Linked DNA regions of Homo sapiens: all the other regions are linked to region 6. Evidence: promoter capture Hi-C in 16 types of primary human blood cells and fetal thymus (Javierre and others, 2016). All regions are on one chromosome and are shown on one strand. Each heading gives the region's core, a stretch centred on a gene start or on the middle of the fragment in contact. The rest is flanking DNA. Distances are from core to core; before and after follow the strand shown.

Region 1 (3,401 bases), core at 318-2,817, 430 kb after region 6:
ATTTCTATGATGATATAAATCAGAAAAGTGGTTGTGTGTGGAGGGTGATGTTTTCCTGGAAGAGGGCACAGGGAAATTTTCTAGGGTAATGAAATGTTCTTTATCTCGATTGGATTGTTGAGTACTTGGGCATATACATTTAATGAAAGTCATCAAACTGTACACTTAAAATCTGTACATTTCATTGATTTTTACCTCAGTTAAAAAAAAAAACCTTCCAGTCTGCCTCATGACCACGACCTCAAAGCAAAAAAAGGAGAAGGAGGAGGAGAAAAGAATGTTTGGAGTGGGGTTATAAAACAAGAATGAATAAAACAGGAATGGAGAAATGTTAAAAAATTGTGAAGGCTGAGTAGTGACCACATGGGGGTTTAATAGTGTACTTTTCTGTCTTATCTTTGTGCATGTTAAAAATTTCCATAATATAAAGTTTTAGAAATTAGGCCAAGCAAGGTGGCTTATGCTTGTAATTCCAGCACTTTGGGAGGCCAAGGCAGGAGGATGGCTTGAGGTCAGAAGTTGGAGATCAACCTAGGAAACATAGTGAGACCCTATCTCTACAAAAATTAAAAAGTTAGTTGGGAATGGGGGCACATGCCTGTAGTCCCAGCTACCGGGAGGCTGAGGTGGGAGGATCCCTTGAGCCCAGGAGTTTGAGCCTGCAGTGAGCTATGATTACACCACTGCACTCCAGCCTGGGCAAGAGAGTGAGAACCTATCTCAAAAAAAAAAGATTTAAAAAATTAAATGCAAAAGCCAATATTAGAAGAACCAAAGCAATTCTCCTTCAAAACAGAAGCAGACAAGGATGTCTCTTGTCCTTACTGCTCTCTTTGTTTCCTTCTTTCTTTCTTTCCTTCTTTCTTTCTTTCCTTCTTTCCTTCCTTCCTTCCTTCCTTCCTTCCTTCCTTCCTTCCTTCCTTCCTTCCTTCCTTCCTTCCTTATACCAGTCTGAGTCAACAAACAAAACTTTCCTGGGAACCTAAACAACACTTTAAATTCTAGTAAACTAAACTCATAAATATGGTGATTGATATGGTTTTGCTGTGTCCCCACCCAAAACTCATCTTGAACTGTAGCTCCTACAATTCCCATGTGTCATGGGAGGGGCCCAGTGGGAGGTAATTGAATCATGGGGGCAGGTCTTTCCTATGCTGTTCTCATGATAGTGAATAAGTCTCATGAGATCTGATAGTTTTATAAAGGGGAGTTTCCCTGCACAAGTTCTATTATTCTCTCTTGTCTGCTGCTGTGTACGATGTGCCTTTTGCCTTCCACCATGATTGTGAGGCCTCCCCAGCCACATGGAACTGTGAGTCCATTAAACCTCTTTTTCTTTTTAAATTACACAGTCTTGGGTATGTCCTTATCAGCAGCATAAAAACTGACTAATATGGTAAATTGGTACCAGTAGAATGGGGCGCTGCTGAAAAGATACCTGAAAATGTGGAAGTGACTTTGGAACTGGGTAACAGGCAGAGGTTGGAACAGTTTGGAGGGCTCAGAAGAAGATAGGAAAATGTGGGAAAGTTTGGAACTCCCTGGAGACTTGCTGAATGGCTTTGACCAAAATGCTGATAATGATGTGGACAATGTAATCCAGGCTGAAGTAGTCTCAGATGGAAATGAGGAACTTGTTGGGAACTGGAGAAAAGGTGACTCTTGTTATGCTTTAGCAAAGAGACTGGTGGCGTTTTGCCCCTGCCCTGGAGATTTGTGGAGCTTTGAACTTGAGAGAGATGATTTAGGGTATCTAGCAGAACAAATTTCTAAGCAGCAAAGCATTCAAGAAGTGTTAAAAACATTCAATTTTAAAAGGGAAACACCATAAAGGTTTAGAAAATTTGCAGCCTGATAGAGAAAACAGAAAAGAAAATCCTATTTTCTGAGGAGAAATTTAAGCCGGCTGCAGAAATCTGCATAAGTAAGGAGGAGCTGAATGTTAATCACCAAGATAATGGGGGAAAATGTCTCCAGGGTGTGTCAGAGAACTTTGCAGCAGCCCCTCTTATCACAGGCCTGGAGGCCTAGGAAGGAATAATGGTTTTGTGGGCTGGGCCCAGGGTCACACTGCTGTGTGCAGTCTAGGGACTTGGTGCCCTGTGTCCCAGCTGCTCCAGCCATTACTAAAAGGGGCCAAGGTACAGCTCAGGCTGTGGCTTCAGAGGGTGCAAGCCCCAAGTCTTGGCAGCTTCCACGTGGTGTTGAGCCTGGAGGTGCACAGAAGCCAAGAGGTGAGGTTTGGGAACCTCTGCCTAGATTTCAGAGGATGTATGGAAATGCCTGGATATCCAGGCAGAAGTTTGCTGCAGGGGTGGGGCCCTCATAGAGAACCTCTGCTAGGGCAGTGCAGAAGGGAAATGTGGGGTGGGCAACCCCACACAGAGTCCCCACTGGGGTGCTGCCTAATGGAGCTGTGAGAAGAGGGTCACCGTTCTCCAGACCTGAGAATGGTAGATCCACCAACAGCTTGCACCACGCACCTGGAAAAGCCATAGATACTCAACACCAGCCTGTGAAAGCAGCCAGGAGGGAGGCTGTACCTTGCAAAGGCACAGGGGCAGAGCTGCCCAAGACCATGGGAACCCACCTCTTGCATCAGCGTGACCTGGATATGAGACATGGAGTAAAAGGAGATCTTTTTTTTTTTTTTTTGGAGCTTTAAGATTTGACCTCCCCACTAGATTTCAGACTTGCATGGGGCCTTTAGCCCCTTCATTTTGGCCAATTTTTTCTACTTGGAATGGGTATATTTATCCAATGCCTGTACCCCCATTTTATCTAGGAAGTAACTAACTTACTTTTGATTTTTTCAGGCTCGTAGGCAGAAGGGATTTGCCTTGTCTCAGTTGAGACTTTGGACTGTGGACTTTTCAGTTAATGCTGAAATGAGTTAAGACTTTGGGGGACCATCAGGAAGGCATGATTGGTTTTGAAATGTGAAGATATGAGATTTGGAAGGGGCCATGGGCAGAATGATATGGTTTGGCTGTGTCCCCACCCAAATCCCATCTTGCATCATAGCTCCCACAATTCCCATGTGTCATGGGAAGGACTAAGTGGGAGATAATTGAATCATGAGGGCGGGTCTTTCCTGTACTGTATTCATGATAGTGAATAAGTCTCACAAGATCTGATAGTTTTATAAAAGAGAATTTCCCTGCACAAGTTCTAGTATTCTCTTTTGTCTGCCACCGTGTGCCTTTCACCTTCAACCACGATTGTGAGGCCTCCCCAGCCAAGTGGAACCATGAGTCCATTAAACCTCTTTTTCTTTTTAAATTACACAGTCTTGTAATTTTAGGGTTCAAGGATAATAGAAGGATAGGTGCAACATGTATGAATATTAATATATTTCCTCTTTTTCCTTTTAAATTACACATGTCTTTATCAGCAGTGTG
Region 2 (2,973 bases), core at 215-2,714, 400 kb after region 6:
AGGCTGTGGGGCCATTTTGCATTCTGATTATCTATCCTTTATTACAGAGGTCAGTAAACTGTCTTCCAGAAAGGCAGAGCAGAGTGGTAGAGAGAAAGTGCCACAGAATTAAAGAGACCTGTGTAGGAATCGTGTTGGTGTTAGAATACTATTAGCATTTCTAAGGAGAGAGGAGCTGGCCTGGGAATATAGTCATCAGATGGTTTTAGGAGGTCGATGGGCAAGATCATTGTGAAATTTTAGAAGAGATGGTCCAAAGAAAAACTTACCTGCTTGGGTCAGTAATAATCAACTAGACAGGAAGGGGAAAATTGATTGTTAGTTTGATTTTTTAGTGATCACTTAAAAAAAAAAGGTCAGTCATGGGGGCTCACGCCTGTAATCCCAGCACTTTGGGAGGCCGAAGTGGGTGGATCACCCAAGGTCAGGAGTTGGAGACCAGCCTGGCCAACAAGGTGAAACCCCGTCTCTACTAAAAATACAAAAATGAGCCGGGTGTGGTGGCACGCACCTGTACTTGGGAGGCTGGGGCAGGAGAATTGCTTGAACCTAGGAGGCAGAGGTTGCAGTGAGCTGAGATCTTACCACTGTACTCCAGCCTGGGCGACAGAGCAAGACTCTGCCAAAAAAAAAAAAAAGGAGAGAGAGAGATGATGATTTTTTATCTTTGAAGATACGCCAATGAAACTGGATTTTCCCCCAGGTCAGAGAGGCTGCTTCTGGGAAACAGAGAACTGGCATTGTTTGGTGTTGGCCACCTTGAATGTGGACAGCCATGTCACAGAACGTTTACTCTGGGCCTTGTGGGCACTAGGTGGGAGTGTGGGAGTGTGGTAAAACCCAGGTTTTCCTACAGAGGAGCTACTGCTGCCTTTTCCACAATCGAAGAACAGCATTATTATAGGATCACTGTTGCAACTGTGTTATTACTGCTGATTTTGCTCTTGGGAAGCTGGAGAAAAAAGTGAGCTGCATTCAGATTTCCTTGGACCATTGAAATTTGCTAATTCACTGTGTCCAGAGGATGCAATTCTGGTGTCAATCTGAGTTTGCACTCAGTGGGCCACAGACTTTGAGGCTAAAAAGGAGGGGACCAGTGGCATGTTATGTTTTTACACATTTCCCCAAATGGGATCATTTGAAAAGTGACTGTCAAGGTTATAAGGAAAACGAGAAAGTAAAGTCCTGCCTGAAAAATGCAAGGGAATAAATGAAGGCAATATGGTTGTAGAAACTTTTAGTGAGAGAGAAGCACTTAGAATGCAGTGAGGGTTAGACAACTGTGTGAAGGGAAGGCAGTGAACAAGACAGCCAAAACCCCAGACCCACTGGAGCCTTTAAGAAACTCTTCCTTGCAGAAGATGAGGGCAGGTTGGTATTTAACAATCCTACAGTCCCCCTTGAAAGAGAGCAATATTTTCTTATTTATTTATAACAACAGTACAGACTGTTATATTAAGTACTTTTTGGGTGTCAGGCTCTCTACATGTATATTTCATTTAATCCTCACTCACAAAACATTTATGAAGAGTATAGGATATAGCAGAAAGAGGACTCAAACTCCTTCTTTTTAACTGCAGGTTATAATCCTCCTTCTCAAAGAGTTCCTGGTTTGTTTGGGAGCTAGGATATAAAGAAATGAAAAGTGACTGAGAGAGTACATGATCATGTACTAAATCAGAGACAGGAGGTACCGAGGGGTTTGGAGGGTATCAGTTTGAACTAAGGTCATCCGAGAAAGTTTCTCAGAGGAAGAACAGCTTGGGTTAGCCAGTGGAGGCTGGTAGTTTGGGCAGAGAAAGTGATAGATGAGCAGAAGCTCAAAGGCAGGGGAAGGAAATCAGACTCAATAGGGGTAACATCTTCTCCAGCTCACAGAGGTGAAACATAAGGCACCAACCTGGATACAAATACAAAGAAAGGGGCCAGGTGCAGTGGCTCACACCTGTAATCCCAGTATGTTGGGAGGCGTAGGCGGGAGGATTGCTTAAGGGGTTCAAGACCAGCCTGGGCAATATAGTGAGACCCTGTCTCTAAAAAAAATATTTTTAAAAATTTAGCCAAGTGTGCTGGTGTATGCCTGTAGTCCCAGCTACTCAGGAGGCTGAGGTAGGAGGATTGCTTGTGCCCACGGTTTCGAGGCTGCAGTGAGCTAGGCTCACACCACTGCGCTTTAGTCTGGGCAACAGAGAGAGACTCTGTCTCTGAGAAAAAATAAAAATAAAAAGGCTCCAGCCCTTAGGATTTTCCAACCCATTGAAGAATTGTAGAATTGTAGACCCAGACACAGCTCACCACATTAGACAGCCTGGAATAAATGTCGTAATGAGGGAAGGAAGGGAAATTGGCCCATGCAGTTTCCAAGCAGGCATTGCAGAAGAAGGAGACACCCAGGAGACTTTTCGATGTGGAGATAGGGATGGGGGACATTTAGTGTGAGCAGAGTGCAAGGAGGACTTCAGGATGTGAGCTCTGGCATAGTGGGGAATAGAGATTCATGAGGGAAATAGCCCAGGCTTTGAGATTGGAAAGGTAACAGGGGGCTGCCTTTGCAACAGAAAGACCTGACTGATTCTAGAATGGCTTGTTTCCATCCCAGATGCCTGTGACTCAGGATTCTCCTAAGAAGGTGGGAAGGCCTGGGGTTGCTCACTTCTCTTGGGGCTCAGGTCCCAGTATTTGGCTGAACTTTCTCTAGTGAGGACAGGGGTGAGGCTTCTCCATTCTGAGACAGGAGGTTGGGTAATCCCACTACTGACTTCTCTTGGATAAAGCACACCAAAAACTTTCTCAGTGCTTTTGGTGTGTTTTGAGGGTCTCACAACCATGGAGTCATATTTGCTTGATGCAAGAACAAGGAGTCAGTAGCAAAGAACACCAGATCTTTGGGCCCTAAAACATAAAACTCTTATTTCATGAGGTTGACCTCAAGGCACATGCATCCCAGAATTCTGCCTCAGATTCTGCCTGGGA
Region 3 (3,402 bases), core at 535-3,034, 490 kb after region 6:
TTTTTTTTTTTAATAGAGACGGGGTTTCACCATGTTGGCCAGGCTGGTCTTGAACTCCTGGGCTCAAGTGATCCACCTGCCTCAGCCTCCCAAAGTGCTGGGAGCCACAGTGCCTAGCCTGCCACACAAACTTTAATCTTTTGCAGTACAATACTGTTTGCCTGAGACAAAACTTGAAAATCCAAAACCCAGTATTCTGTTTTATTTGAGCTTCTTGCAGTGTTGGGAAGGTTGTGTGCAAGTTAATATAGCTTGGAAAGTGAGCGTGATTAAATCTTTGCAAAGGCAGCACACAGCTATGGTGATGTCCCCTAACAACCTTCTGCATCATCAACCGTGGATGTAAGGGTTGGGCCTTGCATCTTTCTCAGAAGGCTCCTACTCAAGTCTGTATCTTCCAGCTTTGTTTTTTGTTGGTTCACTGTGGTTTATGGGGCTAGGTAACCTGTACATTGTAGATTCTAATCTGGTGACCTGCATGTTCCTTCTTGTTACAACGGGTCTAAAATTCCATGGTTTAAGTCATAGCTTAAATGCCATTCCTTCATATCTGCAGAGATTGATTTTTCTGCAACTGAAGACCTCCAGCATAAGCTATTCTTGCAAAATGTCATATTACACAGCAGAAAGGGGACTGGACGGACTGTGGGCACACCTAACTGGGTTCTAATCCTGCAGCAAGATATTTCATCTCCGTGGGTGACATTTCCCCTTGTCTATGATGAGGGAGCTGAAGTCAGTAATATCCAAGACTCTTTCAGCTTTTAAATTCTATGATATTTAAGCAGTAGTTTAGGAACAATTTAAAAAAATTGAAAGGAACACCTGACTGAAACTGTGAATTGGTACATTGTGGAGACGTGAATATTTTTATCCTTTTAAAAGTTTGTTTTGTAGCTATACCAGAGATCATAAAAACATGTTATTAAGCAGTTTCTGTGTATTCTCCTTGCATGAAAGTGGAAAGTTTTTTTTTAATTCAAAAAGGTCTTTTATTCTTATTTTCTTCAAAAATATTTTAAAATGAGTTGTCATCTGGTCCAGAAGTTCCTACACCTGGTTTATGGTCAGAAAGATGTGGAGAACTTTAGAAAGTATAGGATTCCTGGGTATCTCTTGGACCTACGGACTCAGAATGTCTGCGTTGTGGGGTTCAGCAGTCTATGTTAAAACCCAAACAGATAGTCAAGAGAACTCCCTGGGTGAGTCTGATGAACAGCCAACTTTGAGAGATCACTGCTAAGTTAGCTTGAGTTCTGTGATTTTGATGCGGTCAGTTTCTGATCGCTGGCTCTGCCTTCCTCATTCCAATATTTTCCCAGTGTCTGCAGATTATTCCCCCATGGGAATAATCTGGGGGATCAATTATTTAACTGTAAAATGCTGGGATGTGTGTATGAGAGGAAGCCCAGGCCTGTGCTAAGGTCTGGGGATGGCTTTTCCAGTTTGTACAGGATGACTGTTTGGGTGCAAATCAAACCCTGTCTTGGTGCCCTGCAGTCTCACTTTGCCATCCTCTTCTCACATGGGTTCTGCCTTCTCACATGTTGAGAGAGTTGCCAGGGTTTATCCACACTGTAGCATGTGTCAGTATGTGCCTTCTTCATATAAGTCAGAAGTCCCATCATATTCAGATGGCATCCTTCTATTTTGGGGGTAACAGCTTTATTGAGATATGATTCACATACCATAATATTCACCCACTAAAATGTACAACCCACTGGTTTTTAGTATATTCACAAATACCTGCAACCATCTCCACAGTCAATTTTAGAATATTTTCATCACCCTGCAGAGAAACCCGGTACTCTCAGCTATCATTCCCTTGCCCCTCCATTCCCCTGGCCCTAGGCAACCACTGATCTGCTTTCTCTCCTTGTAGATTTGCCTGTTCTAGACATTTCATATAAACTAGATGTTTCATATAAATGAAATCATACAATGTGTGGTCTTTTTTGACTGCTTCTTTCACTTAGTATAATGTTGCCAGAGTTTATCCACATTGTAGCACGTGTCAGTACAGATTCCTTTTATGGTGAAATAATATTCCATTGTGTGGATATCCCACATTTTATTTATCCATTTATCCACTGATAGACATTTGGGTTGTTTCTACTTTCTGGCTACTATGAATAATGCTGCTGTGAACATTTGGTTAAGAACTTTTGTGTGGCTACATTTTTATTTCTCTTGGGTATATACCTAGGAGTAGAATTGTTGTGGGTCATATGGCAACTTTATGTCTAACATTTAGAGGAGCTCCCAGACTGTTTTCTGAAGTGGCTACACCATTTTGCATTCCCGTCAGCAGTGTAGGAGGGTTCCAATTTCTCCATGTCCTTGTCAACACTACTTATTTACCATTTTTTTTGTTTTTTCAAATGATAAACATCCTAATGAATATGGAGTGATATCTCATTGTGGTTTGCTTTCTTCCATTTTTAAGTGGTTACCACCAAACATAATGAATTTACTTAATTTGACCAGGGAAGGCCTTTTTAAGATTAAAATAAACTCTTAATTGTTCATTGTAGATAGACTAGAAAATAACAGACAAATAAAAAAGTCCAAAACCCAAATCACCCACAGTCTTACCATCTAGGGAAAACCAGTGTTACACTGTGGACTGCCTCTTTTTAGAATCCTCTCCTATGTAATCATCACTTTTTAAAAGAGAACTTTTTAGATCCAGTGAAACCAATTGGTAGAATTATGTAGCAGATATTTTTGAGCTTTCCTACTCCCCATTTGAGATGAGTCCAGGGTTGGGCCTCTCTACTATTCATACCTGCAAAGACTCTGACCTGGGCAGTAAATGCTTTAAGAATTGCCTTTTAAAAATCCACCCTAAAATTTTGGGTCAATCATCAGAGATGATGTTATGACATGCATTTGTCTTTGTGTCATCTAATGAATCTAATATGATCAATATTTAAAAATTAAAATGTAAAAAAAAAAAACCATATGCCTCTGCCAGCAGCATGTCAAAGATTTTTTAGGTTCAGGATATGAGGGAATGTAGGTCACCTCCAACCTTCACTCCAAGGCCATATTCAGTGTCTAAGTGGCATCAGGAATTTTTGTTCAGTGACAGGAAAACAAGATTGAAGAAGAAAGGTTTGCTTCTCTGGACTGCCTGAGCTTGGGGACATGTGAGCACCCCCCACAACACCCACTCAGAGGTCCCTTGTGTTTTCTGTTAGACATCACACATTGGCCGACCTCAGATCAGGCCTCCCTCTCTCCTGCCCCTACCACTTGGAAAGAGGTTTAGAGTTAAGTGAGACCAACCTCTCCTGCAGGGGACATCAGTATAACAGCAGCACTTTTGCTATTAATAATTATGCATTTTTCCTGCGAATGCCTTGGAAGAGTGTGAGGGAAGCTAGGATTGTTTTAACT
Region 4 (3,951 bases), core at 368-2,867, 460 kb after region 6:
AAGAAAAATGGGCAGGGCAAGGGGTGTCTGGCTTAGAATGACAAACAGCCCAAGATTAGTAGAAAGCACATGGCATAATCTACCTACTTAGCACTAGGATGTGCTTAGAGCTCTATACAGTGGGAAGTATTGCTTTAGGCAGAATTTCATTAAAAGTACTCATGACTCCTCTGAAATAAGTCACATTCATTTGGAAGCAAAACTTAAGTGTGCTTTTTTTTTTTTGATAAAAAGAGTGTTTTACACTGCTGAGATTTTTGAGTGAGGGCTCCAGAAAACAAGTACCATTTCAGCAAAGTCAGATAAAAGACAGAGTCTAGTAATTCTTAAACTAGTGAGCAGAAACCTCATAAGGCAAGCTTGTTACAAAGCAGGTTTCTGGTTTCTGGACTTCATTGCTTTTTTTTTTTTTTTTTTTTCTTAGGGGGTCTTGCTCTGTTGCCCAGGCTGGAATGCAGTGGCATGATCATGGCTCACTGCAGCCTCGACCTCCTGGGCTCAATCGATCCTCCAACCTCAGCTACCCAAGTAGCTAGGACCACAGGCATGTACCACCATGCCCAGCTAATTTTTTAATTTTTCTGTAGAGACAGGGTCTCACTGTGCTGCCGAGGCTGGTCTCAAACTCCTGGCTTCAAGCAATCCTCCTGCTTTAGCATCCCAAAATTCTGGGATTACATGCCTGAGCCACCCTGCGCAGCTCATTCTGATAGTGATAGGAAGCAGCCAAACACCTAGATAGATAGGGGTGGGTACCCGGTGAAACCCCGCCTCCAAACTGAAGACAATTTAAAGCTGAAAAGCCAAGCTACAAGTTAAATCCTCCCAGCTGATTGAGAACTTGTCTTCCTGTTTGGTGTGCTTTCCCCTGATTGGTCCCCACCCTTCACTTATTTTACAAGTACCTACCCTTTCCTAATTGGTTTTCTACACTGTCATACCCACCTTTGAGTGGTGTCTTTGCTTTAACCTTTTTAGCCTACTCACACACCAATCAGCACACACTCCCCATTTTGAGTCCATAAAGGCCCCAGACCCAGCCACACGGGGGAACTTTCCCGCCTTTGGGTAGGAGGACCAACCCTGCATCTCCTCTTTGCTGAAAGCCATTTTCATGGCTCAGTAAAATTCTCCACCTTCACCATCCTTCAACAGTCCATGTGACCTCATTCTTCTTGGACCTGGACAAGAGCTTGGGACTCACCACGTGTGGGTACCCAGAAAAGGCTGTCACACTGGCCCTTGCCAGTAGAGGGCAGCTGCCCCAAGCCACCATGAGGCAAGAGGCTGAGCTGCTAACGCACCGCCCTCCATATAACCGCCAATGGAGGAACTGAAGGAGCACTGTAACACCCTCTCTGGGGCTTCCGGGCCAGGACCCCGCACAGAACTTGCTCCTGTTTTGTGCCTGGAGCAGCTAGCTGGGTTCTGCCCTCACTTGTTCACGTGCTCCCTCCTGCAAGGGGTTGAGCCTGGCAGGCCGGCCGAGTAGAGGGGGTGCCCCCGCTGGCAGAGGGGCCGAGAAAAAGGAATCTGATGTCAGTGGTCCATGGATCACAATTTGAGAAACTTAGACTGTTTTGACTGTTTTGTCAGAAATCACCAGAGTTGCTTGAATCTGGAAACTTATCTGGAATTCCCTTGTTACCTGTCACAGGATTTTAGGCTTAAGGCTGAGAAGAGTTTTTAACATCAAACAGGGCACAACCCTTGGCTGACCGACTTCCAAGCGGCTTTTATGGAGCCAGTGTCAAGCAAACGTTTGGGATGGTAAGGTTTTCTAACGTTGTTCGGGCAGCTGTCTCTTTGCTAGGAGTACTTAAAATTCAGCAATCCCTTCAGAAAGCAAGGGCTGTCACGCTGGAAGGCTGTATAGAGCTTGGTAATGGGCTTTGAAAAGCGGTAATCAGGGAAACTGAACAAACAGGCCGGCTTGAAAAACAGGCCTCAGGAATAGGAAATGGCCACTTACAATTTGGAAGCCCATTTTTTGAGGTCCCTGTTCCTCTCTGTGTCCTTTTTGTGTTCTAACAACGCCCCTCCTCCCTCTGAGGCCTGTCGCTCTACTTTGAATAACTCTAGAGTCAAATTAAGACGCAAATACTCGAATGTTTGACCCTAACAGGTAGTCAATGCCCTCAGCCTAGAGAGTCGGGTTGGGGCCTGGCGGTGTGAAGCTCTCGCAGCTCTCAGGAGTTAGTTACTGAAAGTTCCATGAGGGAAGGTCGTTTTCGCTGCAGAGTGGCCCAAACACGCTCCCACTTCTGTCCCTCCGGGCCACAGGCTGCAGCGCAGGGCCTCTAGGGTCAAAAGTTGCGGGCGGTGAAGCCCACAGTGCCTGCCTGGGCCGTCGCGTCAATCGCGACTTGTACCCGCCGGACCCGCCCCTGCCCTTGGAGGCGCCAGCGACGCCTGCTGCAGAGGGTAAGCGCTGCGGGGTTCCCGGACGTCCTGAACCGAGCGCCGGACCGCGGGCGAGCCCTGAGATCTGCAGGTTCTCGCCAGCTCCTCCGCGCGTCAGGAGCGCCGGCCGGGGCGTCCGGTCCACCCGGGATTCAAGTTCAGATCCGCGGCGGCCTGGCTGCTTCCCTTCCGCCTGGATAGAGCTGTGGGCCCCGGGGGACTTTCAGTGGTGCAGACACCGCTCCTGCGTGGCTGGGGGCGGCAGTGTCCCTTGTTCCCAGCCGTGTACTCCCTCAGCCTCCCCTGCTGCCCTTGAACACTTTGTCCCTGCGCAGCCCAGGCCAAGGTCTGTTTGCAAACCTCCCGCGTCTCCCCGGTCAGGAGAAGCCGCCTGCTCGCTCCTCGGCTCAGCTCACGAATTCCCTCTAGAAAACACGCCGGAAGGGGGAGCTTTGGGTCAAACGAAAGCTTTTCTGTCCAGAATGGGCCGCCTTCCGTGCACCTGGTTTTAATAAGAGCCTAGGGAGAAATACGGCCGGGGGTGGGGGTGGGGGGCGAAGGATCCCCAAGAAATTCTGTCCAGAGAGAGAAAAAGGGTGCACGAGGACTGTACGTGCGCAGACGCATTCACTGTACGAGGCTTTGTAAAGACCTCGTGCACTTTTCAACTTCAATTGTAGCCTGGAGAGGATGTAGGTTGTAGTGATGTTAGAAATGGGATGTAAACCGCAGTTAAAAACACGTTTATTAACATCGAGGACAAGGAGACTGCGCAGTTGTGCACAATGTATTCTTTTCTTCCCAGTTTTCATAAGAAAAAAGAATATTGAAAAACAACTTCCGCCCCTTCCTATACTCCCACCTTCCTAATCCTCGTGCGCACTTATTTTTACATAGTTGCAATTAGAGGTACACGGCATTCTTAATTCAAATTCTGGCACAAGGGAGGTAAACTACATTCCAGCAGGGCGGAAGTCTTCATTAATTCTAAGAAAAAGATCTCCCAATACATGAACAGGAAGTTAAAGATGATATCGTGCTTTCAACCTATATTATAAAAGTTTAAAGGATAAAGGACATGAAAGGCTTTTAAAAAAGACCTTTGTCAGACGTATAAATGTAAATATGTCTGCCCAGATTATTACTGCGTGTTCTTTTAAATCCAGGGGAAAGTTCTTTCCAACAAAGAACAAAGGACTTTGATCTTTACACTCTTAACAAAATATCTCTTATCCCGCCTTGTACTAGGTTTTGAGAATACTAAATTTCCATGAAAACTTTTCTTCCTTCCTTCCTTCCTTCTTTCCTTCTTTCCTTCCTTTCTTGATGAAGTTTCACTCTGTCGCCCAGGCTGGAGTGCAATGGCGCGATCTCAGCTCACTGCAACCTCTGCCTCCCGGGTTCAAGCGATTCTCCTGCCTCAGCAATGGCTCGATCTCATCTCACTGCAACCTCCACCTCCCAGGTTCAAGTGACTCTCCTGTCTCAGCCTCCTGAGTAGCTGGGATTACAGGCACCTGCCATCTTCCCTGGCTAATTTTTGTATTT
Region 5 (3,862 bases), core at 733-3,232, 480 kb after region 6:
TTCCAATGAACCAAAAAAGAACACATTTCTGAACTGGAAGGGTGCATATGGGACCCTTCAGAAGCCTGACAGAAATGCCTGATGGAAGGCTTTGAAACTGGAAAAATATTAATAAAGAGAACATTAGTGTGGTTTTCAGAATAGCTTAAATAATGTGTGTCGTGAAATCATTTTCTATACCAAAGGATGGATGGATTGAAAAATTGAGACTCTTGCCTAGTCTTGATGCTATAAAGTCTAAATTGGACTTCAGTCCATTTGAAATAATAAAGATAATCTATGATAGTTGTATTTATTGAACCCAAAACTAATATGAGTGACCGTATTTTCTTTTTCTTTTCTTTTCTTTTCTTTTCTTTTTTTTTTGAGATTGAGTTTCACTCGGTCATCAGGCTGGAGTGCAATGGCACCATCTCGGCTCACTGCAACCTCCGCCTCCCAAGTTCAAGCGATTCTACTGCCTCAGCCTCCTGAGTAGCTGGGACTACGGGCATCCGCCACCATGCCCAGCTACTTTTTGTATTTTTAGTAGAGATAGGGTTTCACCATGTTAGCCAGGCTGGTCTCAAACTCCTGACCTCAAGTGATCTGCCCACCTCGGCCTCCCAAAGTGCTGGGATTACAAATGTTAGCCACCGCACTGGGCGGAGTGACTGTATTTTCAAAATTAGTACAAGTGATCTGACAAGGAAAATCTGGAAGACAAGGGAACACAATATTAGAAATTGAATGAATCCTTGAAAGTGTGGGATGTAGAGCCATTGTAATGGCAGATACAAGGAAGTCGCAGATTCATTTTGTTATGGTTTGGCCAAACAGAAACAGTCTGGGACCAACAGATGATTTAAGTTTTAATCATTGCCCTGCACTTATCTAGCTGTGGGACTACGCAAGTCACTTACCCTTGACGTGTTTCTGTTTCTCAGATTTAAAACGGTGATTATATGTACCTTGGCCATCTTATGAGGTTGTTGTTAGGACCCTAATGAGCTATGGGATATGAAAGTTTCTTGTTATACCAGTGGAGTTATTTCTGTGGTTCTGAATAATAATGGCCAGAGACCATGCTTTATTCTCTATTGCCTCACCCAAGTGCTTAGCACCTGCCTGTATAAGGAAAGGCTCGTGGACAGTGTGCATGAATGAATGAGTGACTGGTTCTCTTTGCTTTAGTTTTATTTTCTCCCTCAGAGGCTTGGGCCAAAAAATAAAACTAAACATGTGGTTTGGGATTCTTCAGAGTTTTACACAGGTGCCTGTACTGGTACCCATCCAAGTCTGAGCCACATGCATAAACATGAACATATTCTGATAGACATCCTAGTATTACATGTGTACAGGCTGTTTGGTGGGATTTTTCCTATGGTATTGGATTTGGCAACTAGAGCCTCAGCTGCAAATGCAACATTTTAAAGAAAGTCAATGACAGTTGTGGCCTCCTCCCCTTCCCTTCTTCACTCCCCTACCTGCCAGTCTACTATAGGGCAGCCCACTCAGGCCTCCTACCTCCAGCTGTTGACTCAGCCGCCTTTTACCCTGAAGGCCTTTTGCAAAGGTGCTGGTGGGAGGCAAAGAGGGAGAGAGTTCTCTTGGTTGCACCCTTTCAGGGGAATAGTGTTCATGGTTTTCTTCTCTTTCCAAAGGGAGGGAATGACAATGGGCAGGGGAATTCCTGCAACAGATTAAATGAGGGAAGATATTTCTTCTTACTTGCAAGAAAGGAAAACTGGCTTTAGGTTTCCCTGTTGGACATGTGCTTGGTCGGAGGGCTTGTAGATCTGTCCCTTGGCCTCCTGGTGCAGAGAAGAGAACTGGAGACAGATGGCAAGGTGCAGAGAGGGCCAGCCCTGGGGCAGCCTCCACAGCACTGGTTGATGTGGTAAGGATGCCTGAGTGTGTCACGGTCAGGAGCATGCTGGTGCAGAGCTCTCAGGTTTGAGTCTCCTGCTGGTTCTCCCACTCAAGGGGGTGACCCATGCGGTGAAGATGTACCCCAAAGAGTCACACTTCCAGCTCCAGTGCCCTGCCAGGGAGAGAGGGGATGAGACTTAAACTGAGTCATGATTGACAAAAACTGAACTAACTAGCAGTAAGTGACAGTGACCAAGAAGTGATGGAACTTGCCCGAGATCCCCTACTCAAGGAGGGAAGGGAGATTTGACAGCACATAGCTAAAAGCAGTGATGAGAAGATCAAAACATAGAAAACAAAGCAAAACCCTGTTTCATGCCTGTAAGGCACTAAGCAGAAACTCTTCCATAAAGTGATTATGCTGATTAGAAACTGCCTTCATGTGGTTTGACTCCAGCCTACTTAAGCACTGAAGCCATAGTCTGAGCAGAAAAGACCTTAGTGAGAATTCCTTCAGACTAGTAGATTTCAGATGCTATTCCAGGAAGTCTAGGGTGGGCAAGGCAGCCCACAGAGGTTGCTCAGGACTTCCTGGGGGAAGGAAAAGAATGAGGTTTAGGTGGTGGCTTGTGGAGGAAGGTAGAATGCAGAGGACATAGGACTTCTGGTCTCCCTCCCTTTATCCAGAAGTAAATTTGTTTTTACCTGCTTTTATATATCAGGCTTCCTTGTGAGATGACTCTTGGACAAAAAAGGCTTCCTCATAATCCATCCCCTTTATTTCTGAGATAAATAAACTGAGGTTTAGCCTGGGGAAGTGACAAGCCACAGACCACAGAACCTTGAGTGGCAGGGTCAGGACCCAGGTCATTTGGTTCTGCATCCCGTCCCACACAGGAGGGTAGAGTTAGCCTCATGAATTCAAGGTGCATTTATTGAGCACCTACTAGGTAGAGTCACACAATGTTTTTTTTTTTTCTCTTTTTCCTAAAAGATTAATGCAGTTATTGCATCCATTTGGTGCCTTTACTGCCGGAAAAATAACAGCCAGCAGGGGCTTTCTAGGGTTACCATGGTAAGAGATCTCTGCAAGTCAAACACTATTAACTTTAATGAAGCGGCTTTGATGGTGGGGAAGAGACAGCTGACACCCTATTTCCCTAACAATAAACCACTCTGACAGATAAAAACAAACAGGCTCAAGATAACATATAGCATTTTGGAGAACTGGGCCTGTAATGAATGCAGACGGATGTGAGCCATACTTTCCTCTAAAGCTGTGTTTCTCCATCTGTTGTGGAAACTTCTAAAAGGCAGACCAGGATGACCTAATCTGGCTTTTACAGAAACCACCCCTTGGTGGTTATAATATAACCACCAACCAATAAAAAAGATTATAATTATTATAAGGATGGCCTGGGGAGGAATTTTTAAATAAACCTAGTTCATCTGAGGTTTCTTTCTGAAGACCCTCTTTGCTCTGCGTTACCTGTGGGGTCTGAGCGCTGATGGTTTGTTTATCCAATTCTGGAAACCCAGGTAATACACTCCTCCGCCTTCCCTGTCATGGGGTGACCTAACCTGCTGATATCCCTGCTATGGGGAGAGCTTCTCAGCCCCCAGAAACGATCCTGTGATCACTTATCATTGCACATGGAGCTGCCAGGGCTTCTTCCATCTTGGCAAATCCAATGGATAACTTGGCCTACAACAAAATACAAACATAATTCCCCAGGGTTAGACTAGGTTTGGCGCTAAAGCCTATTGGAGGCCATGGAGATGGAAATGGTGTGCAATTTGGGGGCTCTGACATAATTTGGTCATTAGTCATTAGACTCAGATTTCAGTTTCACTATGAGGAGTGACAAATATTAGCTTAAAAAATGTTTATTTCAGTTCTTCGCCAGGCTGTGTCACTTAATGAAACACCCCACGTTATGTCCTTTCATTGGGGGCTATTTTTGTGTATGAGGTAGGAGAAGGATCATTATAATTGCACTTTTGATTTTTT
Region 6 (3,627 bases), core at 483-2,982:
CGTAAATATTAGTTATTATTAGAGTATAGCTGTTATGGTTGGTAAATACCAAATTGAAAGGTCATAGTCCATTTATTCATTCATATGAATTTATTTGGCATTTACATGCCAGGCATTGTGCTAGATTCTGGTAAGCAAGTGAACAAAATTCATCTCTGTTTTCACGAAGCTTGTGTCCTAGGATACAGTTAATAAATATACCAGACGAGATGGTGATTGTGCTACAGAGAATAAAACAAGGTGGGGTCAAAGTAGGGGATGTGCATGGGTGTTACTATGGGGTAGTTAGGAATGCTTTCCCTAAAAAGGTGACATCTGGGCAAACGCTTGGAGAAAGGGAAGGAGTAAAAAGAATTCCAGACAGATTTTTACTGGAAAACGTGGTTAAAAATTTGAGGGCGGGGGGCCGGCTGCGGTGGCTCATGCCTGTAATCCCAGTACTTTGGGAGGCCAAGGCGGGCAGATCACCTGAGGTCAGGAGTTCAAGACCAGCCTGGCCAACATGGTGAAACCCCGTCTCTACTAAAAATACAAAAATTAGCCAGGTGTGGTGGCAGGCGCCTGTAATCCCAGCTACTCGGGAGGCTGAGGCAGGAGAATCGCTTGAACCCGGGAGGCGGAGGTTGCAGTGAGCTGAGATCGTGCCATTGCACTCCAGCCTGGGGGACAAGAATGAGACTTTTTCTCAAAAAAAAAAAAAAAATTTGAGGGCAGGAACCACTTCTTTTACATTTTGGTAGCATGCAAAAACAATGTAGGCCTGAAACATATTACATTCTTATTGAATGACTATTCAACATAACATACTGAAACATAGCATTAGTTAGGTGCTTAAAATAGGTGTGATTATCAGTATAATTAGAACTGCAGTTTTTTTTCTATTTCACTTTAAAAATTAAGCAACTTTTCTTTTCTTTTTTTTTTTGACAGGGTTTTGCTCCATTGCCTAGGCTGGAGTGCAGTGGTGCAGTCTTGGGTCACTGCAGCCTTGACCTCCCAGGCTCAATCTATCCTCTTGCCTCAGCCTCCCAAGTAGCTGGGATTACAGCCGCACGCCACCATGCCCGGCTGATTTTTGTATTTTTGGGTAGAGACGGGGGTCTCACCATGTTGCCTAGGCTGGTATCGAACTCCTGACCTGAAGCAATCCTCCCACCTCAGCCTCCCAAATTGTTGGGGTTACAGGCATGAGCCAGTGAACCCTCACACCCGGCTAACATTTATTTTTTGAATTAGTAACACATTCACATGAAGCAAACATCAAAAAGTATAAAAAGCTATTCAGTGAAGTCTCCCTCTCTCTCCCGTTCCCATCCACACACTTCCCATTGCTCCCCACAGGTAATACTTACTCATTTTTCTTTCATCTTTCCAAAGACTTTTTTTTTAAAAAACGAATATATCGGGAGGCTGAGGCAGGAGAATGGCATAAACCTGGGAGGTGGAGCTTGCAGTGAGCCGAGATCGCGCCACTCCACTCCAGCCTGGGCGACAGAGCGAGACTCCGTCTCAAAAAAAAAACCAAAAACAAACCGAAAACAAACAAAAACAAAAAAGAATATATAAGCCAATACATGTTGTACTTAAGGAAAAACATCAAATATCCAGGTATCTTTTCCGAAGCTTGTATTTAAAAAGAAAATAAAATCAATCATATTTTGCCCCAGATGCTCAAGATTACCCACGTATCTTAGGCTAATGACCTTCAAGCCGGAAGTGCCCTAGGGCGGGAAAAGGTGAACCGGAAGGGCCAACAGGAGCTAGAGGCGCGCTTCGCTGAGGTAAGTCGGAGCAGTCACAAGCGTGTAGTTGGGCTGTTTAGGAAGCAGCCCTAATCTTTTCATGCAGGGTCCACTTACGGGTTTGCCCTGCACCTCCAGCTGCGTAACCTACCCTTCCTTGCTCTGGTTGCCAAGGGGCTGCTTTGGCCTGGAGCCTCCTGACTGCTGGGCTGTGTCTAGAATCTTCCACGCTCCCGACCCAGGAGAAGCAGCCACACTGAGGCATCCATCTGGATCTCTGCTTGGGCAGGATTGAGACTGCGGGTGAGTCATGAGGGTCTCGTCTGTTCATCGTGGAGAAGCGCCTTCTGTACATGTGCCTTGCGTGGTGGTGGTTTTTGTTTTAAACCTCATATTTGCCTTATGAATGCAATGCAATCATGTCGATTGTTCTTCTGAAAATTTTCAAACAACTCTGACCGCTCAGAGTTAGCAACATTTGGAACTGTTATTGGTGAATCTCGACTTTTTCTTTGGTGAACGTTACTTTTTGCAGAATGTTTTAAGTATAGTGCGAAAGTTCTAGCGCAGTTGCAGAAGTGTGTAAATTCCCAGGGACATTTCTCTATTTTTTCTTCATTCTGCTGGTGATTTTGTTTCTCCCAAACTGCCTTGCACGAGCAAATTTAAATGGAATCTCACTGGGAATGAAATGACTGCCCTGCTAATCCTGATAATGCTGAATTCTAGATATAAATTATTTGGTCGGGGCGGTGGCTCACATCTGTAGTCCCAGCACTTTGGGAGGCCGAGGCGGGCGGATCACCTGAGGTCAGGAGTTTGAGACCAGCCTGGTCAACATGGTGAAACCCCGTCTCTACTAAAAATACAAAAATTAGCCGGGCGTGGTGGCGGGCACCTGTAGTCCCAGCTACTCAGGAGGCTGAGGCAGGAGAATTGCTTGAACCCGGGAGGCGGAGGTTGCAGTGAGCCTAGATCACTCCACTGCACTCCAGCCTGGGCAACAGAGCGAGACTCTGTCTAAAAAAATAAAATAAAATAAAATAAATTATTCATGTCATTGCTGCAATCTTCCACTTCACTTTGCTGCTGAAAATAAGTGACAACCCTTAAGTCATTTATGGGAACCTTTATGATCAGTGCACTTCTTTTAGAAAGAAAATGTGAAGATTCCACGGAGTCTTCTGCTTATATTGAGATCCTCGAATTGATGATTATTGGTTATTTTGCTTTAGTTGTGATAAATTCCTATGGCTCTCTTTGTTTTATACCTTGAAGAAAAAATCTATACTGAAATATCCCAACCTGAGAATCAGCAAATACGCTGTGGATGGAGTTTCCTCTGTAGTCCTTCACTGGTGTCTTCTCTCAGCCATTTCTTCGGCCAATTTGAGTCTTTACAACTCTCCCTGGTTTCAGGGTTGCCTTGGGGGTAGTTGTTAAGTTTTGGAAAATTAGATTCCCCACTTTGATGATTTATAAAGTGTGTTAATGCAGCTTGAGAAAACGTTTTAATTTCCATACGGCTTCATATCGTAGTGTCAGGAAGGAAGCGAATGACAGATTTTTAAATTCCGAGTGTCCACCAGGCGGCAGCATAGGGTTTTTAGTTTCTTTCGCTCTGGCCGTGTATCCCGTAATAACTGTACAGGTGCGGTGATAGTGTTATTCTAATAGTAATAGATATCATATGTGGAATGCTTATTACACGCCAGGGGCTGGAAGTTATCTCATTTAATCCTAAAAAAACAAACCCCAAACCCTGTACCGTAGGTATTCCCAGTATTCTCCTTACACTTCATGGGAAAACCATGGGAAAGAGATTAAATAACAATGCAAGGCTGATTACACAGCCGACAAGTGGTGGAGCTAGAATTGAAACCCA

The links. Contacts are between HindIII fragments. The CHiCAGO score rates a contact against its expected background, and 5 or more counts as called.
Region 1: a contact is called between a fragment that was not itself captured here and the fragment with the promoter of CCDC73 in region 6, in 2 of 17 cell types (fetal thymus and megakaryocytes). The highest score is 7.1, in fetal thymus.
Region 2: a fragment that was not itself captured here is called in contact with the fragment with the promoter of CCDC73 in region 6 in 2 of 17 cell types (M2 macrophages and fetal thymus); the score reaches 5.5 in M2 macrophages.
Region 3: a fragment that was not itself captured here is called in contact with the fragment with the promoter of CCDC73 in region 6 in 4 of 17 cell types (total CD4 T cells, naive CD4 T cells, fetal thymus and 1 more); the score reaches 6.1 in total CD4 T cells.
Region 4: a fragment that was not itself captured here is called in contact with the fragment with the promoter of CCDC73 in region 6 in 15 of 17 cell types (fetal thymus, naive CD4 T cells, total CD4 T cells and 12 more); the score reaches 14.2 in fetal thymus.
Region 5: a fragment that was not itself captured here is called in contact with the fragment with the promoter of CCDC73 in region 6 in 16 of 17 cell types (total CD4 T cells, naive CD8 T cells, naive CD4 T cells and 13 more); the score reaches 28.1 in total CD4 T cells.

Annotation. Positions count from the first base shown.
Region 1 is chr11:32,367,817-32,371,217 of GRCh38, reverse strand. No RefSeq gene overlaps it. Among named protein-coding and RNA genes, the nearest start is that of WT1-AS, 66 kb to the left of the region's middle. The HindIII fragment of the contact is 8,271 bases long and covers 1-3,401 here.
Region 2 is chr11:32,393,143-32,396,115 of GRCh38, reverse strand. The region is part of intron 7 of WT1 (WT1 transcription factor); the gene reads left to right. Among named protein-coding and RNA genes, the nearest start is that of WT1-AS, 41 kb to the left of the region's middle. The HindIII fragment of the contact is 9,656 bases long and covers 1-2,973 here.
Region 3 is chr11:32,300,067-32,303,468 of GRCh38, reverse strand. No RefSeq gene overlaps it. Among named protein-coding and RNA genes, the nearest start is that of WT1-AS, 130 kb to the left of the region's middle. The HindIII fragment of the contact is 5,608 bases long and covers 1-3,402 here.
Region 4 is chr11:32,332,304-32,336,254 of GRCh38, reverse strand. No RefSeq gene overlaps it. Among named protein-coding and RNA genes, the nearest start is that of WT1-AS, 100 kb to the left of the region's middle. The HindIII fragment of the contact is 2,512 bases long and covers 362-2,873 here.
Region 5 is chr11:32,316,261-32,320,122 of GRCh38, reverse strand. No RefSeq gene overlaps it. Among named protein-coding and RNA genes, the nearest start is that of WT1-AS, 120 kb to the left of the region's middle. The HindIII fragment of the contact is 5,878 bases long and covers 1-3,862 here.
Region 6 is chr11:32,792,767-32,796,393 of GRCh38, reverse strand. It overlaps CCDC73 (coiled-coil domain containing 73), which reads left to right and starts at 1,732. Exons shown (of 18, transcript NM_001008391.4): 1 at 1,732-1,781. RefSeq lists silencers at 3,237-3,356, 3,367-3,416. The HindIII fragment of the contact is 7,830 bases long and covers 1,626-3,627 here.